Linked DNA regions of Homo sapiens: region 1 is linked to region 2. The links are contacts of gene promoters, found by promoter capture Hi-C in human tissues and cell types (Jung and others, 2019). All regions are on one chromosome and are shown on one strand. The core of a region is centred on a gene start or on the middle of the fragment in contact, and the rest is flanking DNA. Distances in the headings are between cores, read along the strand shown.

Evidence for each region. The method cuts DNA at HindIII sites, captures the fragments that hold promoters and counts their contacts. A contact is called where the count stands out against the background at its distance.
Region 1: the fragment with the promoter of KRT83 here is called in contact with the fragment with the promoter of KRT71 in region 2 in 2 of the 25 tissues and cell types used here (adrenal gland and heart left ventricle).

Annotation. Positions count from the first base shown.
Region 1 is chr12:52,320,044-52,323,905 of GRCh38, reverse strand. KRT83 (keratin 83) reads left to right here and starts at 2,508. Exons shown (of 9, transcript NM_002282.3): 1 at 2,508-2,954. The coding sequence starts at 2,571. The HindIII fragment of the contact is 13,306 bases long and covers 428-3,862 here.
Region 2 is chr12:52,550,590-52,554,456 of GRCh38, reverse strand. KRT71 (keratin 71) reads left to right here and starts at 1,312. Exons shown (of 9, transcript NM_033448.3): 1 at 1,312-1,820. The coding sequence starts at 1,380. The HindIII fragment of the contact is 12,426 bases long and covers 1-3,867 here.

The DNA.
Region 1 (3,862 bases), core at 1,259-3,758, 230 kb after region 2:
CTGCAACCAAGACCCAGTCACCCTGCTAGCACAAAGTGAGGTGGGGGTGGCGCTTCCCTCCACCAGGCACTCGCTCGGTCCTCCCAACCTCCAGCAAGCTGTGGATTACCATTTATATTTCACAAGTAAGGACCCTGGGGGAAAACGCCTGTGCCATGGCACAAAGCTAGTAAGAGATATAGTTGGGCTTCGAATTGTGTCTTTTTATCTCCAGGGTCCATGCTATCTTCAGAGCCAATCAGGGCAGGGGTGGGCATGGTCATGGCTCCCCCATCCCAAGGAGGTCATGTGTCTACACAGAGCCCCTCGGTGGAGGGGTCCAACATGATCCAAGCCTGCTGGATTGAGACAGATGAGCCAGGTCAGAAGACAGCAGCGCAGTTTCCAGCATCGTGATGGAGAAATGCTTCACAGAGGGTTCACTGCCCTGCAGTCCTCAGCATTTCACCAAGAAACAGATCCCCCATAATCATTGGATATGTGTGGAGAGCATTCCAGGTGCTCACTGGTTCCAGTGTGGGTGGGTGAAGAGCCTGGTCTTTCTTGGCTGTCTAGCAGATGTTTGACCCAACCAAGACTGAACATGACAGCACCAGCCAGCCCAGCCTCCCTCAAAGATGCTCCCAAAATCCCACTAGCCACTCAGCTGCAGTCAGCCACCCCCAGGCCCCCCAGGTACCCTCAGGCTGTGCCTCCCTGGTGTGTCTTTCACACCAGGATCCCCTATCACACAGCCCACACCCCCAGAGTTCCTGCCCCAGACACAAGACTCTGGAAGCCTGTCCACAGGACCCAAGAAGAGAGGCTAGGAGAGTCCTTTTTTTGGATCCATGGCAGATGTCCAGCTCCCTAAGAGATTTCAACAGCACCATCGCCTGCCCTCCCTCAGGCCCACAGAAGATGGGCCCCTCTTCCATCATCCCCAGATCCCCACTCTGGGATATAACTGGCCCACTCATCCTGAGCGGGAGTGGGAAGGGCAAAAGATGAGAGTCACAGGAGGGTTACTATTAGCCCAGAGTGGGTCAGTGTTGGGTTGTGGCTGGGTCAGGACACAGGTCCATCAGTGGAGTCCTCCTCATCCTCTCCTGACGAAAGCAGTCCAGAGATGTGTGTTTGGAAGGGTTGATGGGCTCAGGTCCTCGGGTTAAGGCAAACCTCCTGGCTCGGTCCGACTGTCCATCCATCAAAGCCATTGCCTGTCCTAACCCAAAGGAACAAGGGCCCAAAGTAAGAGAGCTTGGCTTTAGGAACAGCCACATGAGCTAGCACCCTTCTCTCACCCAGTGTGTTCTCTGAGGTGAGAGAGTGATCTCATTTAAGGACCCTGCTGATGTCCCTCACCTCCCGCACCTTCCCTCCTTCCTGGTGAGTACATACACCCCAAGACCCCATCACTGAGCTTCCCTGCTGGGAACCTAAAGAACACCAATCAGCCTGGACATTGTGAGGGCCTTCCCCCCATCTGTGGCTTCTCATCTTTCCCCCTAGCCAAATGTTGGCTCCCCCACATGCATGCTACCTCCAAACACCCCAGGTCTCTGTAGGATTTCCAGAACCTAGCACAGTGGCTAGTGCATAGTTGGTGGGCACCAAATAAGTATTTCCTGAATAAATGAATAAATGAATAAATGAATAAATGAATACACATAGTCTAGTCTGCAAATCAGAGCCAGACTCTTTTCTGGTCATCTCTCAATCCTGTACTACCCCACCCCAATCCTCCTCAAGCCCAGGTCCCCACTCTCCTCCATGAGTCCCTGGAGCTCTGAGGTATTCCACACTCCCCGCTCCTGATCCCATCAGCAATGACACCTGGAACTCTGAAGCATAGCCCTGGCACTGTCCTGAACTCTCTGAATCAGTTTCTTCCATGTCCCAGATGGTGTCCCTGCACTAGGAATACCCAAAGTGCAAAGAACATGCCCTCCTCCCACCCCAAATCTCTACCCCCACTCCCATCCTTGACCAGGCTCTGAGCAGGAATAGGATAGGAGCGGCCAATCTTGACAATGAGGAAAGGAACCCGCCTTTGAGAAAAAGACAGGAAAGCCTACAGCAAGAGGTTGTCTCAGAGGCAGCCCCCTCCTTGGGACAGGCCAGCCACTCCACCCCAGGGCTTGGCCATGGGTCCAGGGCCCATAGCCTAGCTCTGCCCCTTTCAGAACAGGGTTCAGAGAGCAGGCTTTACCCCAGGTCACTGCACCCATTCCCCTCGCTTGGACCGCAGAATGCAACTAATGCTTTCAGGAACCCCTCTCCCCGCTCCACAGCAGTGCCAGTGGGAGGGGCAGGAGCAAGGAGGAAGCTTATAAAGGGCTTTGAAGATGAAACAGGGCCCGTGGCCAGGGATTGTTGATGCAGCCACACTGAAGAGGCAAGCAGGGTTCTAGCTTAAGAGGCCAGGGTGATGCCAAGCCAATAAAATTCAGCTATTGTCTCTTTGCTCCCTCTTTTAACACCAGCTGCCCCTGGCACATAAAAGGGCCTGCCATCAGCCAGGGAGCACAGGCCCTTGGTTCCATCCTCTGCCATCTACTCCACTGTTCAGACACCTCCTAACCTCCGTCATGACCTGTGGCTTCAACTCCATAGGCTGTGGGTTCCGCCCTGGAAACTTCAGCTGTGTCTCTGCCTGCGGGCCCCGGCCAAGCCGCTGCTGCATCACCGCCGCCCCCTACCGCGGCATCTCCTGCTACCGCGGCCTCACCGGGGGCTTTGGCAGCCACAGCGTGTGCGGGGGCTTCCGCGCCGGCTCCTGCGGACGCAGCTTCGGCTACCGCTCCGGGGGCGTGTGCGGACCCAGCCCCCCATGCATCACCACCGTGTCGGTCAACGAGAGCCTCCTCACGCCCCTCAACCTGGAGATAGACCCCAACGCGCAGTGCGTGAAGCAGGAGGAGAAGGAGCAGATCAAGTCCCTCAACAGCAGATTCGCGGCCTTCATCGACAAGGTGGGTGTCGTCCTGGATCACACCCTTCCTGAACCCCTACTCATGTTCAGAACTCAGGCTGGGCACTGACAGGGAAGTCAAAGGCAAGAACTTGCCCACAGAAGTTCCCAGGCCAAAGGGAAAGGTAGTCATACTTCTAGGACACAGACAGAAAGACAAAAATGGGACCGGGAGCTACCAGACTGATGGGGGAGATTAACTGAAAACACAAAAGCAGAACGAGGGGCAGAGCCTTCCACACTGAGTGATAATATCACCTAGTGAGCAAAGGACCACTGTGTGGGCGCTCAGGGCATTTGAAGCCAAATAACTGCTTAAATGCCAAGGAGATGCTGTCTCCATCAAGGCAGGGCTAATAAGTGTGGTGCTGGAAAACTGTCTGGAAGTGGGTCTCGTGGATGGCACAGAACTCTTTCTATACCACACAGTGATTTGGCCACTGAGCAGGGTCTAGAGTATTTTGTCCAAGCCACTGTTCCTGGGGCTCAGGATCCAGGGGTGAGCAAGAGTCATGGTCCCCATCCTCACAGGCTTTATGGGGAGGCAGGCAGTGCACAGTCTGGGTTTGGTTGAAACCATCTGTGTAGTCAGTGTCCAACTAGAGTTTGCAGCCACCTTCTCCACTGAATCCAGGCAACCACCATGTGGCAGTGATGTGAGAGACTGGGAGAAAAGGCTCTGACTAGGAACATGTTCTGGGGTTGGAAAGAGCCCTCCAGAGCCAAAACCTCAAGAGAGGAGTCACACTAGAGAGATGCCCACCAGAAAGGATCGGGAAAAAAAAATGTGGAATTTCTAATAGCATGAGAGACCAAGGATAGCATAAGATAGGACCTACCAAGGGTGTGGCCAAGTTATTAGACAAAAGAAGCTGAGTGGAGTAGTGGGCCAACCTCATCGCTGGGAGA
Region 2 (3,867 bases), core at 63-2,562:
ATATGAGAGAGAGCCCCAAACCAGCCTGTCTCCAGATTTTCTTCCCTCCTGTGCCCCACCCAGCAAAGAGCTGCTGTTCACCCATGGGGCTCCAGCAGGGATCTCTGGGCAAGGGTGATCTTCAGGGACAGAGCTGCCTTGGGTTGAATAGGGCCACAGTGGCAATGGCGATCATGGGAGTAGCTGGGGCCCAACACAGGAGCCAGTGGCTAGGAAGCAGGGGCTGCAGCCAGAGTCTCTGGGGCTGGCATCAAAGGACTGTTTGGAGTAGAATGACATCGTGCTTACTGGGTCGCCCCCATTGGGTCTTTCTGGTCTGAGCCTGCCTGGAGGCTTGCACTCCTGGGGAGGGCTCAGCCAGCCTTGTTCTTGGCTCACTTGGGCCTGGACAGAGGCAATAGGAGTTAAGTTTCATGTTGATAACAGCTTCTTTATTTGAACTCTAAACAGATGATTACTGTCCTCAAGTTGTTCCTAGTCTTATTAGCAGATACACATTGGAGGAGAGACAGAAATGAGGAAGTGGACCACCCAGGAATCTCCATAACCCTCCAGGCCATGGGCCAGCCTCTGTCTTTGTCTTCTCTGTACCTCCTTCCAGTCAAGTCCCTGAATTTCTCAGCCACCTGCCCCAACTCCATCCTCCTTTTCTCGTCCTCATTTTCTCCAGTGTTTGAAGCCTCCAGCCTGCTTTATTATGGGTGTTTGAGGGGGGAGAAGTGAGGATAGTGCCCGTGGTTGGCTCTGGCCTGGGCTGCTTCTGTCCCATGCTAGCGAGAGGGTCACTCCACCTCCTAATACCCCATGAGTGAGAGCAGCTGCCCTCTATGGGTTATGTTTCCAGGAGGCCTGGGGAGAGGTAATGCCTGATCAGTCCCTTTCCAGGAAGGAGGAGAACAGAAGTTGGAGGCCCCAGTACTCTACCCAGTGTCCTGAACTATCCAGGAAAGTCCATCCTGTCTTCACCTGCTGCATCCCCAGGAGGAAGCCAACAACCCAGAGAAGATTAATCAGGATAGGGATGGTGCAGTGCCAGTGACATCCCCCTGGAGAGGCCAGGGCCTGGGGCAAATTACCCTATAACAGCAGGTTAATTAGATAAGACCCAAATTACATGAGCAAAGCTTGCAAGCCCAGCAATTTGAAGGTTTCATGTTGTTTCAGAGGTGGAGAGGGCTTGATCTCTAGCTCAGCATAGAGAAAATGACTTCTTGCTCCCAGGCAAGCCAAACCCACGAATTAAGCTCTTGACTGCCCATCCACAAGCCCCAGTGCCAAGCACATATAAAGGCACCTGCCAGTCCTCACTACAACCAGCAGAACCTTTTGGGATTTTGCCTTCCTCCCTCCTGCATCTGAGCTTTGTCTCCACCAGCAACATGAGCCGCCAATTCACCTGCAAGTCGGGAGCTGCCGCCAAGGGGGGCTTCAGTGGCTGCTCAGCTGTGCTCTCAGGGGGCAGCTCATCCTCCTTCCGGGCAGGGAGCAAAGGGCTCAGTGGGGGCTTTGGCAGCCGGAGCCTCTACAGCCTGGGGGGTGTCCGGAGCCTCAATGTGGCCAGTGGCAGCGGGAAGAGTGGAGGCTATGGATTTGGCCGGGGCCGGGCCAGTGGCTTTGCTGGAAGCATGTTTGGCAGTGTGGCCCTGGGGCCTGTGTGCCCAACTGTATGCCCACCTGGAGGCATCCACCAGGTTACCGTCAATGAGAGCCTCCTGGCCCCCCTCAACGTGGAGCTGGACCCCGAGATCCAGAAAGTGCGTGCCCAGGAGCGAGAGCAGATCAAGGCTCTGAACAACAAGTTCGCCTCCTTCATCGACAAGGTGGGTCTTCTAGGGCCTGGGGAACTTGTGAACAGCCCTCCTCTTCTCTTCTTGGAACATACGATTTTGTTACAGCAGGAGAGATTGAGGTTAGATGTGAGGAAGACTTTACTGTGGACAAGGTAGGTACATCCCATCAACAGGGTGACCTGTGTAAGGTTCTCTGTGTTGTCTTTCCAGAGAGAAAACAGAGGCAGGTCAATTTCTACTGGCAGAGGCTTCTCAGGGCTCCCAGCAAGAGATGTGGTCCTTCCTCTTGAGGGCTAGCTTGGTGCCATTGCTAGGCCTGCAGGCCGTGTGCAGAAAAGGCCTGTGAGAGCCAGTCTCGCCCAGAGTAAGCAGGGAAGCTGTCCTCCTCCCCTGGCATGCTGCCCTGCCCACTGGTCACTTGCCCAGCGGATCAGGAGCAGCAGGAAGGGGCCGCTTCAGGCCCTCTGATTGGGCATTTGCTCCAGTCAGTTGAAGACTTTCTTGAGAGGCAGAAGAGGGCACTGGGGAAGGGGACTCCACGGTGCTCTTGTGCTCACTGCTGGCCACAGCTGAGTGGCTCTGGGAAGGTGATCTGCCTGTCTGTGTTGCCATCTCCTCATCTCTAAAATGGAGATAATAACTTCTGTCTTGGGGTTGTTGTCAGGCTTATAAAAGAAAATGCAGGTGAAGATCTTGTCACAAGCCTGACGCACACTAAATACTCCAAAAATGATTGTGATTGTGACTCTCATTTCTTATCTCTGGAATGTGGGGGAGGGAAGCTCAGGGGAGGAATCAAAGGTGTCTAGAGACCTGAAGAGATGACACAGTCCAGATAGGCCCCTGACTTCTGGCAGAGAAGAAATGATTATCCCTATCGTATGAGTCACTGAAGGCATGGAGGTAAATGGCATTCCCAGGGTCATTTGGGGAAAGGGAAGGGTGAGGCTGGACCCTCAGCCTTTTGCCTCCAGACCCAGAGGAGGAGACTGGAGGGTTCTGTTGGCTCTGTGGCAGTCAGGCACCAAGGACGGGTCAACCCAGGACAAAGTCTATGGGTGAGACGGTCATGTGGCCATCAGAGCTTAGCCAGCTCCTGCAGCTCAGACTTCCTGCCTGGAGGAGTCCCTGCTGCCCTCGGCTCAGCCTCAGGGGCTAGGACTGGCTCTGCGGCTTCTTATTCTTCTAAGCCTTTTCATATCTGCAAGATCAAAGTGTTCTGAGATGGGGTCTGGGTGATGGGAGTGGACTGATTGATTCTTGGCTCGGCTGGTCAAAACCTACAGAAGGATAAAGTCTGGAGACATGGGAAGAAAGATGAACATGAGGAGGGTCACATCCTGTTTATAAAGATGGTCTGCCCAGAGGGAGGGGAAGGAGGCTGAAAGGCTTGGACAGTTCCCAAATAATTTCAGTCTCCAGAGATCAGTCCCTTAACCTCAGGCAGCCAGAGAAGACGGGTAAATCCTTTCGGCATCCAGATGTGTTCAGTAGTGCAGGTGTGTATTGTGGTGTCTCAGATGCAGGATTTACTCTGTGGTTAATGCTCAGCCTCGTAGATCACATGAAAAATTCAGGATTGGTTAAACCAGACCAAATGCTGGAAGACGGGCTAGAGACAAATTTTCGGGGAATAATTCTATCTTGACACTGAATCTTAGATAGTTTTCCCATGTCTTGTGTTTCTGATGTTGGGGAAGACAACCTTATTCAAGCAGTAGCTGTGCTCATGTAGATTAAGGGAAGTCACATTTTAAAAACTGTGCTCCCCATCCCCAAAAACCAAACAAGAGGTGTGTATGGACATCTCCTTCTGGCCAGTTTCCTGCCTCAGTGAGGGGCTACAATGGGATCAGGAGCTCCATCTGTCCATCATGTTCCATGTGCCATGCTTGTTGCAGAGAAGATGGTTCTGGGGAGCAGGACCAAGGAGGGAGAGGAGGGGCTATAAGCAAAGATGAAGCTGGTGCCTGCTCCAGGCATTTAAAATACCTAGAAGCCCTTGGCCCAAGCCTTACTGAGCTCTGACATGCCCTGAAATGAAGAGCAGACTTTTCTTCAGGATGGTCAACCTGTC